Linked DNA regions of Homo sapiens: all the other regions are linked to region 1. The links are contacts of gene promoters, found by promoter capture Hi-C in human tissues and cell types (Jung and others, 2019). All regions are on one chromosome and are shown on one strand. The core of a region is centred on a gene start or on the middle of the fragment in contact, and the rest is flanking DNA. Distances in the headings are between cores, read along the strand shown.

What was found. The method cuts DNA at HindIII sites, captures the fragments that hold promoters and counts their contacts. A contact is called where the count stands out against the background at its distance.
Region 2: a fragment that was not itself captured here is called in contact with the fragment with the promoter of FCN2 in region 1 in 2 of the 25 tissues and cell types used here (liver and thymus).
Region 3: a contact is called between a fragment that was not itself captured here and the fragment with the promoter of FCN2 in region 1, in 2 of the 25 tissues and cell types used here (H1 embryonic stem cells and liver).
Region 4: a fragment that was not itself captured here is called in contact with the fragment with the promoter of FCN2 in region 1 in 5 of the 25 tissues and cell types used here (IMR-90 fibroblasts, dorsolateral prefrontal cortex, mesenchymal stem cells and 2 more).

Annotation. Positions count from the first base shown.
Region 1 is chr9:134,879,444-134,882,313 of GRCh38, forward strand. FCN2 (ficolin 2) reads left to right here and starts at 1,367. Exons shown (of 8, transcript NM_004108.3): 1 at 1,367-1,478. The coding sequence starts at 1,379. The HindIII fragment of the contact is 19,799 bases long and covers 1-2,870 here.
Region 2 is chr9:135,057,672-135,060,541 of GRCh38, forward strand. No RefSeq gene overlaps it. Among named protein-coding and RNA genes, the nearest start is that of OLFM1, 29 kb to the right of the region's middle. The HindIII fragment of the contact is 4,932 bases long and covers 1-2,870 here.
Region 3 is chr9:135,039,368-135,042,237 of GRCh38, forward strand. No RefSeq gene overlaps it. Among named protein-coding and RNA genes, the nearest start is that of OLFM1, 47 kb to the right of the region's middle. The HindIII fragment of the contact is 3,441 bases long and covers 1-2,870 here.
Region 4 is chr9:135,022,371-135,025,240 of GRCh38, forward strand. No RefSeq gene overlaps it. Among named protein-coding and RNA genes, the nearest start is that of OLFM1, 64 kb to the right of the region's middle. RefSeq lists an enhancer at 199-839. The HindIII fragment of the contact is 4,205 bases long and covers 1-2,870 here.

The DNA of each region.
Region 1 (2,870 bases), core at 117-2,616:
CGGAATTTTGGCTGCTGGGGTTTCACTGGGCAGCTCTGGGGACCTGGCTCCTCTGCAGGTGACTTCAGGACTTTGAGGAAGATGCCCCCAAGCCATCTTTCTAGGTTCCATATCTGCATCTCCATGGAGCCTGTGTCTTCCCCAGGTTCATCCCTGGACCTCATCTGCATCTGGCATAGCCTTAATTAAGTCTTGAGAGGTCTGCCCTAAACACCACGGAACCCGAGGGGGGTCTTAACTAGTCATAGTCTCAGGACCACACATCTCCATGGGCATTGAAGGAAAATCCGATGGGATTTTGTTTCTCGCGTGGCTTTGCTGGGCTGGGGTCACAGTTTAAAATCCTTCTACTGATCTTGCCAAGGAAGAAGGCACCTCGGCATCCCGATGGCAGCAGGTGGCAGGGTGCGGTGGTGGTAGTGGGAGGTGCAGTGCTGGTTCCGTCTCTGGGGGCTTTAGGTATACGGCCTCTGGGGCCCCACCTGCTACTGTCTCTGTCTCTAACCTGGCTCAGTCCAAGGCGAGAGTGCACCTTCAGGCCAGCTCTTCTCCAAAAGGCGAACACAACCACTGAAGTAAGTCCACAGCCATCCTACAGGTGGGATGTCTGGCCTCAGGGCTCAGGGGGTTCCCTGGGCCCTAGGAGTGAAATTCACCTACTCTCATCCTCCCTACAGGCTAAGCCCCTGCATTCACACTCAAGGTCTCCCCTTCAGATGTGTACCTGGGTCATAGTCCCCCAGGCTCCCCACTCTTCTCTCCTTTCCCTCCTGTTCATGTGCCCCTGTGCTCTACATACTGCCCCAGGAAACAGTGGACACACACGCATTTTCCTCTCCTTTTCACCCTGGCAGCCTGCCTGGACCTCATAGTGGCAGTTTCCAAGCCTCCTGAGGAGAGTCCCAAGTCTGCTCATGATGTGGTGAGGGTTACTGTGTAAGGCCCACACCAGTGGCCCATGACCAGCCCTGGCCATGAGGACTCTAGGTATTCGGATAAGGGAGAGAGACCTCTTTGAAGCAGAACATCTTTAGCAAACCCTTCCTTGTTCCCCGTTCTCAGCTCATGGTGACATCTGCTCACCGCTGAACAAAGGTGGGAGGATGGGCCTGGGCTCTTTGCCCAAGGCCACAAGCAAGTCAGCCTGTTCCCTGGAAGGAGACCGTCCCCCTGCAGGGATGACAGTCGCCATGGGATCCCCAAGGGGCGGGGGGTAGGGAGCAGCCCTGGAGATGATCTCGCACCTCCTGCTGGCGTCACCAAGCCCGCGGAGAGGAAGCGGCTGTCACTCGGAAGATGAGAAATTGGAGTCTGAGGGAGGCTGGCTTCTCTAGCCCTATAAGAGGGCAGGCACCTTTTGAAGCAAAGACCAGAAGAGATGGAGCTGGACAGAGCTGTGGGGGTCCTGGGCGCTGCCACCCTGCTGCTCTCTTTCCTGGGCATGGCCTGGGCTCTCCAGGCGGCAGACACCTGTCCAGGTAAGGGCACTCCAGGGCCTCCTCCTGGAAACTTCTCGTCCCTGAAAGCTGGCAGCTTCGTGATTGGTGGCTTCCTGGCTTCCAGGCCTTGCACCAGGCCGTGTGGAGCATCGTCTAACGAGACAGCAGCTCTGCATGCCTCATCTTATGTGAACAAACGCAGAGGCCCCGAATGGATGTGGCATCTCAGAGACGGAGCTTCCTCTGCTTGCCCTCCCATAATGGAAACCGAGGCAGGTTTCCAGTCTCCCTGGGCCACATGTCCCCCTCTAAGCGTAAAAAGCGTAGTCATGGTGTTGTGTGGGGAGGTGAGGCTTGTGGTGCCAGCTGGGTAGACACCAGTCAGATATTCTGCCATGGTCGCCATCACAGAGAGACAGGGTGTGAGGTGGGGATAAGCACCCGGAAAGACAGGGTGTCAGGCGGGGATGAGCACTGCAGGACCTTTCCATCCAGGACCTGCTGGGCTCTGGAGATGGCAGTTCCCATGGTGTCCCTGATGCGGCACAATAAGGGTGGCATTGTCCCCGTGAGTTCTGGACCTCCTTCGGGGCTCCCGAGGGGACACTCGGGTGCCAAACCATGGGCTCCGGCGCATGCGAGGGCAGGTTGAAAATGCAGGTTCTGGAGTCAGGTCCTGACTCCGTCTACCCGGGGCTGGGATGCAGGGTCAGGAATTTGTGATGCTCCTGATGCTTGCAGAGATTCGTGTCAGGATTTCTGGAATGCATGTGAGACACAGAGCTCTGCGGTGTGCTGTGACTAGCATCGCATTCAAGGAGCAATCCGTGGCGTGAAGTGTGACACAGGCCAGGAACAGCGGGGATTCGCTTGGAAACTCCTAGTGGCTCGTTGTGGAGTGGTGGGGTTAGGGTGGCATTATTTTCTTCCTTAAATACTTCTAGAGTTTCTAAATGATCAAATAATAGCACGTGTTATTTTTGTAACACACTCACTTGAATTTGAGTTATCTAATTAAAAACAACAAGCTGCATTCCAGCTCTAGTTTCGCACCAACTTGTTCAGTGTCCTTGAAGGACGCCTCCCTCTGTGGAGGAACAAGGTGGACCCACAGGAGCCCATCCACTCTCAGATCTGCTCCAAGATCAGGCGTGGGAGTTGCAATGGTAGCCTCTCTCCCTGTGTCCTTCTCACCCGATATTGATTACAATGATATGATAGATGAGAACAGACGAGATTAGGATGCTGTCTTAAATGGTAGGAGCTGAAATGAACCTGCACCCCTCGGTAGGTAAGGGAACAGAGGCTCAGAGGGGTTAAGGGACTTGTTTCAGGACACACAGTACTGAGGAAGTAAGGTTTGCCTTCAGGCAGGGTAGCCTCCAAGGCCAGGGTTCTGCCCCAAATCACCTTTCTGCCTGACCAGTGCCC
Region 2 (2,870 bases), core at 172-2,671, 180 kb after region 1:
CTTTCAGAAAGAAGAGGAGAAGGGAAAATGGCTCAACTTGTCTTATGAGGCCGGTGTAATCCTGATACCAAAACAAAGACATCACAAGAAAAAAAGAAAAAAGCTATAAACCAATACTCCTCACAAACATAGACACAACAATCCTTAACAAAATAGCAACTCAGGAAATCTAGCAACATATACAAATAATAGTACATTATGAACAAGTAAATTTTATCTCAAAATGCAAGGTTGGTTTAACATTTGAAACTCAATCAGTGTCATTCACCATATTAACAGAATAAAGGAAGGCAGAAAACCATATAATCATTTTAATAGATACAGAAAAACATCAGATAAAAATTCCATATCCAATCATAAACTCCCAGAGAAATAAGAATAAGGGTAGGATAAAGGGTAGCTTTATAAAGCATACCCCTTATAAAGAATAAAGGGTAGCTATGTAAAATCCATAGCTAATTATCACACTTAATCTTCCCTATAAGATTGGTAACAAGAGTTCTTGCTCTCGCCACTTCTATTCAAACATTTACTTGAAATTCTAGTCATTGCAAAAGGAAGATGAAGAAATAAAAGCATTCAGATTTGATAAGAAATAAAGCAGTTCCTATCTGTGGGTAAAATAATTGCTTGTGTAAAAAATGCTAAGAAGTCTGTAAAACAATTACTGGAATTAATAAGTGCATGTAGCAAAATTGAAAGATACAAGATACAGAAATCAGTCACAGTTTATATACTAATATCAAACAATTAGAAAGTGAAATTTTAAAAATTACTCTTACAATAGCACCACAAGCCACAGAAGGAATGAATTTAACAAAAAAGTGTAACTCCTCCTCACTGAAAACCATGAAATGCTGCTGAGAGAAATTTACGTAAGTAAATGGAAGACAGACCCTATTTATGTATCCGGCATTGTCAAAAGGTCAGTCCTCTCTAAACTGATCTATAGATTCAGTGCAACCCAGGAGGCATTTTACTGGAATGGAGAAATTGACAGGCTGATTAAAAAAATGTATACAAAAATGGTAATGACTTAGAATAGCCAAAGCAATTTTTAAAAAGAACAAAGTTGAAGGGAAGGCGGGGTAATCAAAGGTTGGTTAAGGGATGTAAATGGCCAGCTAGGGAGGAGGAATGAGTTCAGGGCTCTATTGCACCTAGGATGACTGTAATTAATTAACAACAATTTAATAAATAGCTAGGAGAGTGGATTTCAAATGTTCCCAACACACAGAAATGATAAATGTTTGCAGCAATGGCTATGCTAATCACCCTGAAATCAAATGATCATTACATACTGTATACATGTATTAAAATCTCACACTGTGCCCCATAAGTATGGGCAATTATTCTATGTCGATTAAAAATAATTATAAAAGCAATAAATAAATACAGATTCCCAGGCCCAGATCCATCCACTGGATTTGAATTGTCAGCAAAGGAACCTGGGGTCTACATTTTAATGATACCTCTGTCATTCCTATCATCAAGCAAGCGGCAGAAACCCTTAGACTAATTCTACTTGGATCAAATGGGAAATGTGTTTAGTGCCGAATATAAATAATTGTGTAATTGTGAGCTTTCCAAGTATAGTTCTACTTAAATCACATCATCAAATGGAGACATTCTATGTTTCATGTACGTAAAGCACAAAACAAGCAAAACTAAGGTTTAAAATCCAGAGTAGTGAGCACTGGGGCTTAGGGACTGGAAAGGAGCAGGAGGGGCTTTCTCGGGGACTGGGAACGTTCTGTTTATTTAACTTGTGCTGGATTCATGGATGTGTTTGGTTTGCAAAAATTCATCAAGTTATAGGTATATAAACAAAGTGTATGATATATAAACCCACATATATATGCCATGTGTACGATACACATATACATCAGTAAAAGCAGTTTTCAGAAAGATTTAAAGGTGTAGGCTAACCTAAAAAGATGTAAAGGTAAAGGTTCATTGAAAAATAAGCTTAAATATAAATGCTAAGAGTAGCTCCACTAGATCAGCATTTTTATTAATATGAAGGATACACAGCCCAAATATAAGTGGACTTCAGATTATGTGCTTCACCCCTGAAAAAGCACAAAAACAAAGTGGAGGGCTCAAACTCATCTGATTTTAAGATTTATTGTAAATGTATAATAACCAAGACAGTGAGGATTTTGCAAAAGGATACATATATAAAGCAGTGATCTCTAACAGAGAGTGCAGAAATATTTCACACATATGTGAAATTCATGATTAACCAAAGTGCAGTGGCAATTCATGGGGAAAGAAGAATTTTTTTGACAAATGCTGCTGGAATTATGGGGTAAACCTATGAAGAGAAAATGAAAATTGACCCTCACCTCACACCACATACAAAAGCAAAACTCGAATCATAGGGCAAAGTGCAAAAGCTAATACTAAACTTCCAGAAGAAAACAGGAGAAAATCTTTGTAACTGTGGGGCACAGATTTCTTAGGTTGGTTGCAAAAAACACAAACCACAAAATATAAATTGAAAAAGTTAACTTTATCAAAATCGAAAACTTGAAAGCCACCGCTAAGAAAACAAACCAAAAAGGAGCAAGGCACAGAGTGGAAGAGAGTATTGAAAATACATCTATCTGACAAAAGACTTATACCCAGAATATAGGAAGAACTTTTACAATTCATGGAGAAGACAAAAATATCTATTAGAAAATGGGCAAAACAGCTGGGCACAGCTCAAGACAATATGCACAGGGCCAATAAGCACACAAGAAGATGCCCAGTATCTTTGGTCATCTGGGGCAAGGGTGGACCGGGAGACTGCGAAGGGACTGCTGAGGCCATCCAGGCTGGGGCACACAGTGGCTCTGGCCACCCCAACTGAAGCCTGGGTGTCC
Region 3 (2,870 bases), core at 144-2,643, 160 kb after region 1:
CTGCTCTGGGGCCCCCTGGGCAAAAGAGCAGACACTTATGCTCCAGGTGGATGCATGCACGAGTGTACCCAGCTGGGAGCTACCAGGGATACTGACCAGGCCACTGTCCAAGAACATCCTCCCTTCTGTGATTCCCAAAGTGGCAGCCAGAGGTGAGGCGCAGGGAGTGCAGGGTGCACCCTGCAGAAATGCAGTCCCCAGGACACGCTCACACCCGATGCCTGCAGGCTGTGGGGCAACACGGAAAGGCCGCTGGCCACGGCTGGGCCCAGACCTGCAGCCTCCAGTGGTGCATGCTCAGCTCAGCACAGGCTTCATCTCTGATGCGAGCCACCAGCCACCGAGGCCCCGCTGAGCAGCTCCTCTGAGAGATGCCGAGACACTGGGGAGGAGTGAGAAGCTCCTCAAGGTTCCCTCTCTGCAAACGCCAGGTGCAGGGTGAGCAGAAACTGCCTTTGCAGAGTGCCAGGCAGGGCCCGTCTGATGAGTTCAGGCACACTGGACGGTCCATTTTTTTTCAGATATTCTGCTATGGACACAAAATTCACCATCCCCAGGCAAATTCTCACATTTATGCCAGCCCCTACTCTCCGATGAGGCACCCAGGTTCCCCAAAGCTGAGTTTTCCCAGGTTTGCATCTTCCAAGAGAACAGCAATCACTCCAAGCAGGTGAAAGCTTTCTGTCAGCCTCCACCACGCAGGAGGTGAGTACCTGGGACAGAAGCTGAGCCCACAGCTCACAGAGGCAGCTCCTCCACGTCGCTCCCCCAGAGGGAAGATCATTGCCAGAATCCAGCAGGGGATGCTTCTGACCTGGCATCTTTTCCACAGGCGTCCAGTTCTGAGATCTGGAAGCCAAACTGACCTTATGTTTGGAAAGGTGAGTTCAAGCCCTCAGTGCAGCACCCTCCTGCATCCTTTGACTGGATTCCCATAAAAAATCCAATCGAAATAAGGATGAGAGTTCCCCACACTATGCAAAGACCCCAGGATTTGTGGATGCCATTTGTTCAGGTTACATGCCTATTCAACCATCACCCAACATCTCACCTGGCACCTGCTTCGTATGGGAAGTCTGCCAGGAAGTACAGCCCAGCGGTGATCAGGAGACCAGTAGTGAGCAGGAGCCCAGCAGTGAGCAGGAGCGACCAGGTGCATGCAGTGGTGGTTAGCATTATTTCTTTAAAGATGAAAAGCTTAAGAAGTTATTTCCTTTCATTCATGGTGCAGAATTTCATTTTAAGTATGATTAAAAAATCAAAAAAGGAAATATGAATGTGCATAAATTTAAAATTCTGTGGCATATACCAACAAACAAGGTTATAAAAAGAGGACAAACCAAAAAATATTTTCATTACATAAAACCGAAGAAGTCAACATTAATTATTTATAACAAATTCCTTCAGAAAATCTGCCTGCGCTGTGGAGCCCCAGAAGCATGTGGACACCTTTTATCTAGCCCACACAGCACTGAGTAAAATAATGCATTCAGGACCCCGCATTCCCGATGCAATGTAGGGGGAGAAACCGGAGCTGGAGTCCCGCGGCTCTCTCCTCCTTCATCCCTCTCTTCCCTTCCCACCTTCTCTGGGAAGTCTCCCCTGTCTCTCAGCTCAAGAATCTCCAGGATGGCGGAGCCTGCATAGCACATACGAAAATCACATGGAATCCTCCTCTATCTTCCTGTTCCGTGTTTGTCTTCCAGGGACCTCCTCAAAGCCACAGACCCTGTTCCCTTTTCAGGATCGGGTACACAATACATTGTGCAATGAAAGATTGATGGATTAAGATGCCTCACGTACGAGATTTTTTTTTTTAAAAGATGCTTGTTGTTTTGAAAAAAAAATGCGTGCGTGCGTGCGTGCGTGCGTGCGTGTGTGTGTGTGTGTGACTTGAGGCAAGTTAAGGAGTGTGTGGGGAGAAACACTGATATGGAAGGGTGTTCACTGCCCATGCAGGGGTGGAGAGGAGGGCCTAGTGCCTTTGGCACAAGCATGCTTATCTTCAATGCATCCTTTATTTTGGCACAAGAAGATGCTCCAGGTTCAACTTGGATACTTCTTGGTCCCAAACTGGACCAGTCATTTCTCCAAAGAACCCTGGGTCCTTATGGTGGGGAAATGGTATTTAGAGACCATAGTCTCTGTGCTGAGAATGTTCATTGTTACTGAATTTGTCATCGTTTCTTGGCCTTTTTGGTGAACAGAAGTAATACACACACACTATGGAAAGTACACCATAACATCATTGTAATATTTACCATGCCAATGTAGGATTACTGGCTTCTATGTGGTTTATTCCATTTTATATCTGTGTCTTTTTTCTCTTACATGCATCATCTTTATACATAATTGCTATGTCTCACTACCTGTGTACACTCCACCCACACGTCCGTAGTATTTTCAGAACAACAAGGCCGACAACAATACCATGACTACTAGCACAGTTGCCAAAACCAGTGTAAGATCACTTAGCCTCTCTCCAGCAGTGGGATCTATAGGATATAATCTCACGAGCTCTACATGGCGTTTTAAAGTTACCTGCAGTAATTCACAAGAAGGCAGGTGCAGAAAAAGCCAGCATTCCTCCTTCCCTTCCACTCTTTTTCCTCTCACCGCAGATAACTATTCCACAGGATTTCAAAACTTACTCTCCCACATTTTAAAATGCAAGTGATTACATATGTGTGGGTGCATATTTGCATACAATTATATCCACAGCCCCCTTTCTTAGATGAAGCTGGCCTGCTCTGCACACCGTTTTCCGTCTTTCCTTTTCCACCTACGATATGCCTCCGTTACCCTGCTGGGATGGGATGTAGATGTTGTCTTTACTTGTTTTTACTGCTGCACAGAACAGCCCAGGATGT
Region 4 (2,870 bases), core at 229-2,728, 140 kb after region 1:
CTCCATGCTCTGCTACCCAGGGCTTCAACACCCAACTTCTCTTGGCCTTCCTGGGTCTCCTCCCACTTCTCTGACCTTCCTCCTCGGCCTTTCTCATGAGAGCCACCCCCGACTTCCGGCAACACCCTGGAGACTGGTTGGCAGTGGGGTTGAAGGCAGGCGCCACAGTGGCCCAGGTCCCTGGGGACACCCCGTTCGAGTGGTGCCAGCCTCCAGGTCAGAGCCAAAACACCTTGGAAAGCACCTGGCCCGTTTCAGATATGGGGAAAGCAGAAAGAGACAGACCAAGAACTGCGGGTCCCTGGACTTCCCACAGCTCACGCAGCACTCCAGGGTCCAGGGTGCGCCCAGCTGAGCTCACTTGCCTGTGCCGAGGCTGTGCCCTATGACATTGTAAACCAGAGTGTTCCCCCAACTTCCCATTGGCTTACCCTGCATTTCAGGGCCCACGGTGCACCCCAGCTGCGCTCACCTGCCTGTGCTGAGGCTGTGCCCTATGACATTGTCACCCTGGGTGTTTTGGGAGGATACACAAATGGTAGGACATTGTGTGGAGAACAAAAGATATATCTCTTAATATGTGCAATGGGACCCCTGTTCTATAAACAAACAAAAACTACTCGATTGTAAAAAAGAACGGAAGGAAGCGCGTGAGCTGCTGTGAGGACCAACCCCCAGAAGCAGTGGGGAGAGGCAGAAGAGCCAGGGGGCTTGGATGTGATCTCAGCTGCACGATGGGATCGCAGACAGGCCACCTCAGCTCTCTAGGCCTGAGTCTCCTTGCCAGTAAAGTGAGGCTCAGAAGGCCCTCACTGAGAATCACTTGCTCAGTTTTTGGAAAAATTACAGGATGATTGGAAGATTACATGTGTGCCCAGCATGGTGTGTGTCTCACAGGTACACGCCCTTCATCCCCAGCAGCTACAGTAATGATCTTTGCTTGGTGAGATTACGGCCACTTACTTTCTTTTTTACACCATGTCTGTATTTTCTCAACTTTCTATCATGGCTATGTGTTATTTTCATAATCAGGAAAACAATAACCATATTGAAACCTAGCTACAGTCACCATCCACCATGGTTCTGATGGGAGGTGTCTGCGCATGCCTGCTTCCCTGCCAGAGAGAGGAATTTCATGCCACAAGACCTCAGCCCTGCAAAAGGAGCCTCCTCAGCCCCGGGGGCACTTTCTGGAAAGGAGCCTGGTCTGTGCCTCTGTCCTGCTGGCAGCAGCTTTCCGGCCTTTCTTGCTAATCAGGACCTGTGACTCATTATTGTGTTTCTGAAGAGAACACCTCACCCCTTCAGAGTGGAGCAGCCCACGTGGGGCTGTGACAGCTGCCATGGTCAACCCCACAGCTGCTCCCCATGCCCCCCACTTAATAATGGACGAGGCTGATGACAGCCTCCTTGAAATGGAAATATTGACCTACATGCTTCAAAGCAAGTGAGGAGATTGTGTTTGCCGGCATTGCATTCCCTGTCACCAGTTTTGCCTTTTTAGAGAACTGTGAAGGGTATTTGTTCCCAGAATTTCTGACAAATCTCTGCCACGTGCCACCACCTCATCTCAGCACTCACTCAGGCGATGTGCATTTCACTGATCACCTGCTGCAGGCTGCACGGGGGCGGGAGGACTGTGAGGCCAATCACACCTCCAGCCTTAGAAACCAGATCACAGGACCTGGGAAGCGGCTCCGGAGGGCCCAAGAAGGTGTTCCTAGGGGGTAATGGTGGCGTGGGATCTCCCAAAAGAGTGGCCTGGACGTTAGTGGCATTCCTGGGAGAGGAAGGAGGACCTTGGAGGTGCACAGTGTTGGGTGCTGCCTCTCCATGGACCAGAAGGAAAAATGTCCAGTCAAGGAAGCAAAGGTGGGAGGGGAGAGAGGAAGCTGAAGAGGTGGGCTGGAGTCCAGCAAGGTGATGCGGGATGCTAATTCGGACAGCCACGTGGACAGAGGCGAAGGGGATGGACCATGGGGACAAGAAGGGGAAGGCAGGCACCTGTCGGGAGATCTTCGAGCTCCTGACATCACGTCTGTGCCTGGCTTCGTGCCTCCTACGGGGTTCAATAAAGAAGACACCATCTCCACTCACTGAGCTTATGATGCCGATGGCCCTGGTTCTCACACTTAAAATGTGCACAAAAATCCACTGGGGAGTGTAAGAATGGAAGCTTCTTGGGAGCCGGCCCAGGTACAGCCGGAGCAGCTATGTTAACATCAGACGAAGGAGACACGAGAAGGAGAATTGTCAGGGATAAAGGCAACATTACATCACCATAAAAGACTTGATTTTTCAAGGAGACATACAAATCTAAAAGATATACTTAATAACACAGCTTCAAAACACCTGAAGCAAAAAATGAGAGAGCTGAAAAGTGAACTAGACAAATCCATAATTACTGTTGGAGATGTAAACGATTCTCTCTCAGTACTTGGCAGAAAATCCGTGAGGATGTGGATGACCTGAACAACACCGTCAGCCAACTTGGCCCACCTGGCATCTCTGGTACACTCTACCCAACGTCAACAGAATACATGTTCTTAAGGGTACGTGGAAGCTTCCCTAAGACAGACCAGATTATGAGCCACAAAACAAATCTGAAATTTAGAATACAAATCATATAAAGTGTGTTCACATACCACAGTCTTAAAATGAAAATCAACAAAAGAAATATATGTGGAAAATCCACAAGTATTAGGAATTAAATAACATCTTTCCAAAGGACATATGAGTCAAAGGAGAAATCTCAAGGTAAATTTAAAAATATTTTGAACTGAATGAAAGTAAAAATACATTGTGTCAAAATTGGTGGGACGCAGCTAAGGCAGTGCTTACAGGAAAACGTATAGCTTTAAATGCTTCTG